2 separate regions of the Homo sapiens genome follow, and region 2 is linked to region 1. Evidence: promoter capture Hi-C in human tissues and cell types (Jung and others, 2019). All regions are on one chromosome and are shown on one strand. Each heading gives the region's core, a stretch centred on a gene start or on the middle of the fragment in contact. The rest is flanking DNA. Distances are from core to core; before and after follow the strand shown. Region 1 holds the start of C9orf163 (chromosome 9 putative open reading frame 163). Region 2 holds the start of NSMF (NMDA receptor synaptonuclear signaling and neuronal migration factor).

The links. Contacts are between HindIII fragments. The study calls those that stand out against the background at their distance.
Region 2: the fragment with the promoter of NSMF here is called in contact with the fragment with the promoter of C9orf163 in region 1 in 1 of the 25 tissues and cell types used here (dorsolateral prefrontal cortex).

Annotation. Positions count from the first base shown.
Region 1 is chr9:136,481,068-136,485,173 of GRCh38, forward strand. It overlaps C9orf163 (chromosome 9 putative open reading frame 163), which reads left to right and starts at 2,428. Exons shown (of 1, transcript NR_172629.1): 1 at 2,428-4,106. It overlaps SEC16A (SEC16 homolog A, endoplasmic reticulum export factor), which reads right to left and starts at 1,973. Exons shown (of 32, transcript NM_014866.2): 1 at 1,871-1,973. RefSeq lists enhancers at 1,121-1,866, 2,612-3,356 and silencers at 1,596-1,915, 2,146-2,255, 2,326-2,505, 2,656-3,085. The HindIII fragment of the contact is 5,654 bases long and covers 1-2,738 here.
Region 2 is chr9:137,456,886-137,460,939 of GRCh38, forward strand. NSMF (NMDA receptor synaptonuclear signaling and neuronal migration factor) reads right to left here and starts at 2,449. Exons shown (of 16, transcript NM_001130969.3): 1 at 2,147-2,449; 2 at 1,603-1,664; 3 at 522-1,016. The coding sequence starts at 2,217. PNPLA7 (patatin like domain 7, lysophospholipase) reads right to left here. Exons shown (of 35, transcript NM_001098537.3): 34 at 3,749-3,852; 35 at 3,067-3,591. The coding sequence ends at 3,508. RefSeq lists an enhancer at 633-1,330 and silencers at 1,970-2,239, 2,330-2,679. The HindIII fragment of the contact is 38,119 bases long and covers 1-4,054 here.

The DNA.
Region 1 (4,106 bases), core at 1,178-3,677:
CACCAGGAGAAAAACAATGCAACTGCCTATCACCTATGTCACCACTACAGGGAATTTTATTCTTTTTTTTTTTTTTTTTTTTTTTGAGACGGAGTCTTGCTCTTTCACCCAGGCTGGAGTGCAGTGGCGCGATCTCGGCTCACTGCAGGCTCCGCCCCCCGGGGTTCACGCCATTCTCCTGCCTCAGCCTCCAGCGTAGCTGGGACTACAGGCGCCCGCCACCTCGCCCGGCTAATTTTTTTTTGTATTTTCAGTAGAGACGGGGTTTCACCGTGTTAGCCAGGATGGTCTCGATCTCCTGACCTCGTGATCCGCCCGCCTCAGCCTCCCAGAGTGCTGGGATTACAGGCATGAGCCACCGCGCCCGGCCCAGGGAATTTTATTCTGTAACCTCAAGTCATCTAATTCTTTTATTGTTCCAAAGAGGCCAGCTGATCTTGAAAATGCAGTATTCATAAACCTAGCTAGTCAGTTAAACTGCCTTGTAACCATGTGGATACCTAAGCAAAACTCTTTTTAGTACAGTTCTGGCTACAGAACTGAGGCATTTAAAATGCATGCACACCCCTCTCCTCTTGCTGCCACTGGCTTCATATTTTAAGTGAGGAAAACAATAGTGTGCCAGGAAGCCCCTGAGTTTACCTACTGCCTACAGTCTCCCTCACGGTGGCTGCTAGTGACGCCCTGTCAGACTGTGGGATGCTTGACACAAAGACATGATCAACTCCAACTCTTCTAAGTTAGAATCGCAACCACATACAGTTAGATGTTGAAGAGGAAGCCAGCGACAGAGGAGGCCAGCAGCCTAACACTGATGAAAATGACGAAGACCCTGGTATTCATGAAAGATGCTTACAGAAGAAGAAATCACATTAACATTTACCCACTACCATGACCTCTTGCTGGATTTGGCAAAAAAAGACAAAGAAAAAGAAAAAAAAAGTGCCCACTGCCTCAAAGAAAACTTTAAGTACAATTTTGAGACTCACTGTAGTAACCACTATTAACAGTAAACGAGGAACAAGGAACAAGAAAGACACGCTATTTTGCCTCTTGTCTACAAGATACCAGCACCTGAAACTTAAGAAAGGGGATGAGGAAAAAACGCAGGGAGGCTGCATTGTGCTGAAACTTGCAAAAGTATCACTTCTAGGAAGAACCGTCTGCGGTTCCGTTTGCTTCGTATTGCCACATGGGGGATGGGAAATACCTCTTTGGTTAACATCGGCATCACACATGTAAAACAAAATCTTAATATACAATCCACACCCAACTTACAAGCCATTTAAAAGTGTTCTTAAGCGGCAAAAACTGACTTTAAATGGCTCTGATGTTTCTGAAGGCTCTACTGTAACACTTCCATCACAAAGGGGCGAGCCGGATCACACACACTCCTCTAACCCTCGGCCTCTGTTGCAACATCCTGATCGCCCAATCAAGAAATTACAAACAAACAACTCTGCTCTTTGGTTCAAATGTAAATGTGTCTCTTCACCAGCATCGCTAAGGAAGCCTTCTAGCCGGTGAGGACAAGACACGCTCATTTGAAAAGTTAAGAGTCTTACGAGGGGTGCCTGGGGGTCCAGCCTCCCGCCCCGGGAACCGGCGTCACCGCAGCCCAGCCGGGTCCACGTCAGTCCCTCGAGTCCCACGGCGGCCCGCGCCGCGTCCGGCCTTCCGCTCTGGCCCGGGGGCCCGGACGTCTGTCCCCTCGACCGGCCCCGGCGGGACCCGAGATGCACCGCCCGCTCGGGGCTGGGCCCAGCCGCCTCCTCTCCTCCGCGCCCCGACCTCCACGGCCTGGCTCCGCCGGCCGGCCTCCGCCTTCCTCCTCCCGCGCTCGCCCCCTCACCCGCGCTCGCCCCCTCACCCGCGCGGCTGAGACCGATCCCTCAGGAGCCGCGGGCGAAAGCCCACCCGACGCTGGCGACGAGCACAGACACCTCAGCCGCCGCAGCCATCTTGGCACATCCGGCTCGGGTCTCCGCGGCCGCCGCGCCGCCGACGTGTCCGGCTTACGACATCAGCGCGCGCCCCGCCCCTGGCCCCGCCCCTCGGCTCGTCGGCCCAGACGCGTTCTCTTTCAGCCCTTCACAGCCCATCCCTCGGCCCCGCCCCTCGCCGGCGTCCGTCCTCCCCGCCTCATCCCTCTGTCCCGCCCCCTCTGCCCCCGCCCCTCGCCGGCGTCCGTTCTTCCCCGCCTCATTCTTTCGTCCCGCCCCCCGCCCGTCTTCCACGCCTTATCCTGTAGTTCCCGCTCCCCTTGGCCCCGCCCCTCTTCCGTCGTTCCTCGCCTCATTCTTTCGTCCCGCCCCCTTAGCCCCGCCCGTCGTCCGTCTTTCTCCGCCTCATCCTGTCGTTCCCGCCCCTTTGGCCCCGCCCCTCGGCCGTCCTTCCCCGCCCGTGGCCCCGCCCCCCTCCGGCGTCCGTCTGCCGCCTCACCGCTTGGCCCCGCCCCTCGCCACCTGCCCGGCCAGGCGCGCCGGGGCCGTCCCAGTACGTCGCCCTGTTTACGCTGGCTCTTTCTCCCAGTCTTTTTTCGTTTTAAGATGTGAGAAGAGATGGGATTCTTCAATCAAGGCCACAAGCGGGAAATCAGTCTGCAGGACCGATGCCAGCAGGCTCACGCACCGAGAACGGCTACTCCGCCCAGCTGAGAAGCGCGGGGCCCTGACGCGGGCGCGCTCCTCGCATTCTTCCGTTGGGCTGGGAGGCTGGAGGGCAGGCGGCGGCGGCCGCGCATGCGCCGGGAGCGGCCGGAGCTGCGGGACGCGGAGGGCCGACTGCGCCTGCGCGCTGGTTGCCTGGTTACGGCGTGGCCGCGGGCACCGAGCGGCGCCGGAAGTTGGTCGATGGCTGCCGCCAGTCCCTGGCCAGCGTCCTGGGGTTTCCCCGACGCATCCTCTACTGTCCCTTCGCTCTGCACAGAGGCCCGGGCAGGGAGGGGCGGCCCGGCCACCGCGCGGAGCCGGGTGTCCGCCGACTCGCAAGGGGGACGCGCGGGCTCCTCGTCCCCAAGCTCCGCCCTGCGCCTTTGCTGCGCCGGGCCCTCCCAGGCCCACCCTGGCCCCAGCCCTGCTGTCCTCCCGGGGAGGTGCGGCCTACTCGGTTCGTTCCCCCGGCCGCCAGCCCCACAGGGGCGCTGGGGTCCCAGCCTTGGCTGAGTGCACGTCGGTGGCGAGTGGGCCCGGGCGCTCGGGCGGCCAGAGCGACCCAGCGGAGGGGTGAGGCGGGTAGGCGCTCCTGTGCCTGCCACGGCCAGGCCAGGCAGCATCCACGCCCTCCCGCGGAAGATCGCAGGGAACAGGTGGGCACTATCCTCTGTGCCCTCATTTTTCGGAGGAGCCGAGGGAGGCTGAGCGGTTGAGGAAGCGGCCAGCCATGCCGGGCCCACTCACCTGCACACCTGCCTGGCAAGGGCAGGGAAGAGCCGCGGCCTTCCTCTGCTGCTCCTTCCAGAGGGCAGGCGCCGTGGTGGGGGTGCCCGCCCGATGGCATCGCGGGAGGCTGAGCTCCCAGCAGCGGCTGAGGTCCTCCCTGGGTGGGAGCCACCCTTGTCCCCAGCTGGGCCGGCGGCTGGTGAGGGAGGGGGTGATATCCGTGCCACGCCAGCAGGGCCGCAGGCGGTGCAGGGAGAGCTTCAGTCCGGCTGACGTGGCACCAGGGCCAATCTGCTCAGCTAACATTTGCCTTTCAGGAGTCAGATTCCTGACCTGTTTGAACAGAGTTAGGGAGCACGTGGTAGGGCCCAGCCCCAGCCCCGCTGCCCCCATCTGCTTCTTCCCAGTGGTCGAGGCGCTCTGCACCCTCCGCGGAAGGAGGTGTCATTGTTTGCCCTTTCCAAAGAGGGGGATGCAGAGGTGGATGCTGCCTCTCAGGCGTGGGGCTCGCCTTTTGCCGCTCGCGAGTTCAAAGAACCCAAGAGCCAGGAGCCCAGGGCTCGACCCTCTAGGGTCCTCCGAAACCCTGTGGTCCCACCGGGGTGGGCACTAAGCTATGGGAGAGACCATAGCTGCAGAAACCAACCCTGCCCTAGGCATAAAATGCAAGGTCTCTGGACCTCAGGGCAGGGATGTTAGACAGCGGCTTCTGTTGGCTCCTAGGGG
Region 2 (4,054 bases), core at 1,199-3,698, 980 kb after region 1:
GACCACCTTGCTGAGGGCTGTCCCCTTCCGAGGGCCCCCACAGCCTTTCCCTGATGCCCAAGTGTGGGGACAGTGGAGTGACTTTCTGCCTGGTGGACAAGCTACCACACAACTCAACAACCCTGGGGAAAGATGCCCACTGCCTGGCTGGGCCCCAACAGCTCCCCAGGACTCTCGGAGGGCAGCCCAGTCTCCTGATTAAGCGGTGCTTCCTCCCTACATATCCCTTAAGATCCTCCCAGGCCCCCTCCTCCAGGAAGCACTCCTTGATTGACCTGGTGCTAGCAGGGCGAAAGCGGACTGTGAGGCCTGGCAGATTTTGCTGAGGAGCTGAGGGAGCTCACAGCTCATAGGGTGTGGAGGCCGCAGCAGAAGCCTGCCGGTTTTAATCTTGAGTCCGCTGGCATGCTGTGACCTGAGCACCTGTTCTCTGTTCCAAGCCTCACAGTGGCTGCTGCTGTCAGACCCTGGCAGCGGCATGCACCCCCAAACCTGTCTATGCCCTGACACAAACCCCTCACCAGACACACGGTCAACGCTGTACATCCTCTCCAGCTTCTTGCGGCGACCGGAGGTCTCAGGCAGAGGTGGCTGGTCCAGCCCAAAGGCCCGAGGGGTGGGGCCAGGAGCCAGCTGGGCACATCCGGGGCACTCCTTGGAGCCCTGGCGGCTGCCCGCCCAGCTCTGGCAGGGCCTGCTGACGTCCTCCCGGCTGCCACCAGGGCTGGCGCGCAGGGGCTGGCTGTGATGGTGAGGGTGCCGCTGCCGCCGCCCCTTCACCACCGCCAGCTCAATGGCCTCCGCCTCAGGGCTGGGCAGCAGGGCAGGCTCCCCAGAGATGGTGTACACTCGAGGCTGAGGGCCCTCGCCTGCGGGCTTCCTAATGCTGGGCTCCTCTGAGAGGCTGCCCTCGTAGCAGCCGTTGGAGACGAGGGACAGGCGGCGCTTGTTCTGGGGGGCCGGCTGCATCTCGGGGGACCCGTCGTGGCCAGAGTAGGCATCAGCCAGCAGGTGATCTAGGAGAGACACTGAGTGAGCCTGCCTGCCGCGTGTGGGCCCCCCGCTGCCGGTTTCATAGCAGGCCGAAGGCAGAGAACACCCAGTGGGCACCTGGCCTCTGTGGGGGACTAGGGCTGCCCAAACCCTAGTCACTGGCGTGTTTCTGAGCCCCTCACTCCTATCTGGGCCTGAAGCTCTAGCATGTGCGTGGGGGCTGGGTGACGCTGTGCTACCTGTGTGCGGTCCTGCCGGGTAGGAACACGCAGGCCATCCCCCAGCCTGCGATCGCACCGTTTGCCTGGTGCCAACTTCCCCCTCCCCCCACCAGCTGGCCCCCAGAGGCAGTGGTGCCAGCCCTGGGGGAGCCAGGAGGCCTGTTGCCATGCCAACGGCCCAGGCGGGGTGGGTGCCATGGTGACGAGCGGCTGGGAACTGCTCCTGGGGCTCGGGCAGGGAGGGCAGGGGATGTAAGGAAGCCAGGCCGGCAGGGCGCCGGGCCCACGCGCAACCAATGCCCCTCACGCTCCACCCCCGGAGGCAGGGATCAGCATCCCTTGGGCTGGGGGGTCTGGGCGGCCCTGGCACGGCCTCGCGTGCCCCTACCTGCGCCGTTGCGGTTCTCAGGGTGACTCTGGGACAGGTACTCTCCAAACGCTCGGGCTGCTCTGAGGGTGGACAGAGGGCACGGTCAGAGGCCACGGCACGACCCTCCCAAACACCGGGCCGCGCAAGAGCCGGGGGTCCGGTCCCCAGCCAGGCCCTCGGCGTCTGGAAGGAGGGTCGGGGTCGTCCCCCTCCGGGAGCCCACACACCCTTGGTCCTGGTGCGCCCTGGCCAGGCCTGCAGGCCCGGCCCCTGCCCGTCGGACCGTGGAGAGGGGTCGCGAGGCCGGTCGGCTGCTGTTCCCCGGGGGAACCGAGGCCACTCCCGACCTGGGGGGTGCGCTCGCCCACCACGCGCTCGCGAGGGGAGGGGAGGGAAGAGCAGGGCAGGGGACCAGGAAGAGGGAGGCGCGGGGCGCGGGGAGGGCGCCTCAGTGGCAGAGGCCGGGGCCCGGGAGCCCGGGGAGCACCGCGGGGCAGGGGCGGACTCGGGCGGGGTCGGAGGTCCAGGGCGGGGTGCGGGAAGGCGGCCCCGCCGCACTCACCGCACTTTGGCCGCCACCGAGGACATGGCCTCGCTCCTCAGCGCCCTCCTCCTGGAGGCGGCGGCGCCCATGGTCGAGGCGGCGGCGCATCCCCCGGGCCTCAGAGCGCGCCCCGCGCCCGCCGCCTCCGCCGGGGTAGCCGCGCCGCACCGGGGGTCGCGCTCGGGCTCGGGCTCGGGGTCTCGCTCGGGCTCCGGCTCGGGCTTGGGCTCGGGGTCGGGCTCGGGGTCGGGCCCGGTCCCCGCATGGCCGCACCCGGCGCTCCGCGCGTGCCGCCGCTCCCGGGAGAGCGCTGCCCGAACCGAGGGCCGGCCCCGCCCATCGTGACGTCAGGGCCCGGGCGGGCCCAGAGGGGCGGTCGGCCCCACCTACCGTGACGTCAGGGCCCCGGAGAGCTCGGAGAGGACATGTGGCCCCGCCCACCGTGACGTCCGGGCCCGGGTTGAGTTGGGGGCGGGGCCGGGCGGCCTGGCTCCGCGCCCTCTCGTCCAGGCCTCCAGAGCGGGGAAACTGAGGCCAGCGGCCCCCTGGTCGCAAAGTCCTGGGCCCTCGGCCCTCACGATCTGCTGCTCAGACCTGCAGGATCACAGGGAGGCCGGTTCTCCCTCCCCTTACACAAAAGGGCTCCCTGTGCAGTTTGGGAACTGGAAACCGAAGGGGAAGCCAGTTTAGGGGGCACCCAGTTTGCACGAGGCCAGAGAGAGACAGAGGGGCCCGTCCTGGTCCTGGGGGGCCACAGCTCTATGCAGACTCTGGACGCCCTACCTGCCTGGCCTGCATTTGCCGCCCTAGGGCTCTCAGGCCCCAGCAGTGGGGTCCTTTGAGGAGGACTGGGGACTGCCCAGCCTCAGGGACCACCCGCATCAGGGAGAACCAGTAGTGTTTCTTTGCCACAGGGACCTCGGCCCGGGAGACACGTCCAACAGTGAGATCCACCTTTATTGAAACATCACACGGCAGCATCAGGGCTCCCACACCTCACAGGGCAGCAGGCAGTTCACAGGACAGCAGGCAGTTCACAGGGCTTTGGGGGCCTCACAGGGCAGCAGGTGGTTCACAGGGCTTCGGGGGGCCTCACAGGGCTTCGGGGGGCCTCACAGGGCTGCAGGGGGTTCACAGAGCTTCAGGGGCCTCACAGAGCTTCAGGGGCCTCACAGGACTGCAGGGGGGCTCACAGGGCCCTGTATGCAGGGCTGCTGGTACAAAGAAGAGGCCCAGAGAACCCTAACACAGCCTGGGGCCCCGGGGAAGTCAGGGCTTCCAGCAGGGCAGGTACAGAGGCCCCTAGGACTTGGCAGGAGCCTCAGCCTTGGGGACAGTCCCACGGAAGACGCTGCATCCGGGCTCTTTAGCAGAGGCCTCTACCCGTCCTGGTCAGAGGAGCCCTCAGACAGTTTTGGGAAAGCCAGACTGGGGTGTCGATGCCGCAGTGAGGACTCGTCCTCCTGCAAGCAGACCGCATGTTCCAGGTGAGGACCAGGCAGGGCAGGGGCTCTGCAGCGCTGGTAACCCGGTGGGACCACAGGGAGGGAGTGGCCGGCACAGGGCCAGGCACCAAGGCTCAGCTGTGGGCACCAGGTGGGACCATGCCCAGCTCCTCACCAAGTCTGAGCCCTGCTGGGCTGAGGTGCTCTGGAAGTCTGCGTATGCATCCCTGGGGACGTCCAGCAGCTCCTCCTCGTACTCCGTCTGGTAGTCAGATTCGTCTGGCACCGAGGGTAGGGCTGCGTCAGTCCCCTCCCAAGGAAGGGACCGTACCCAGCATAGCCACACTCAGAGGCAGAACCGGCCACAGATGCCCACCCCCGCCTCCAAGGTGGCCCGGGGCCCTACACGCAGCCACCTGGTCCCAGGGCAGCCCTGCACACCACCCCTGGTTCTGTCTGGCTCCAGCTTTGCCCCAGCACA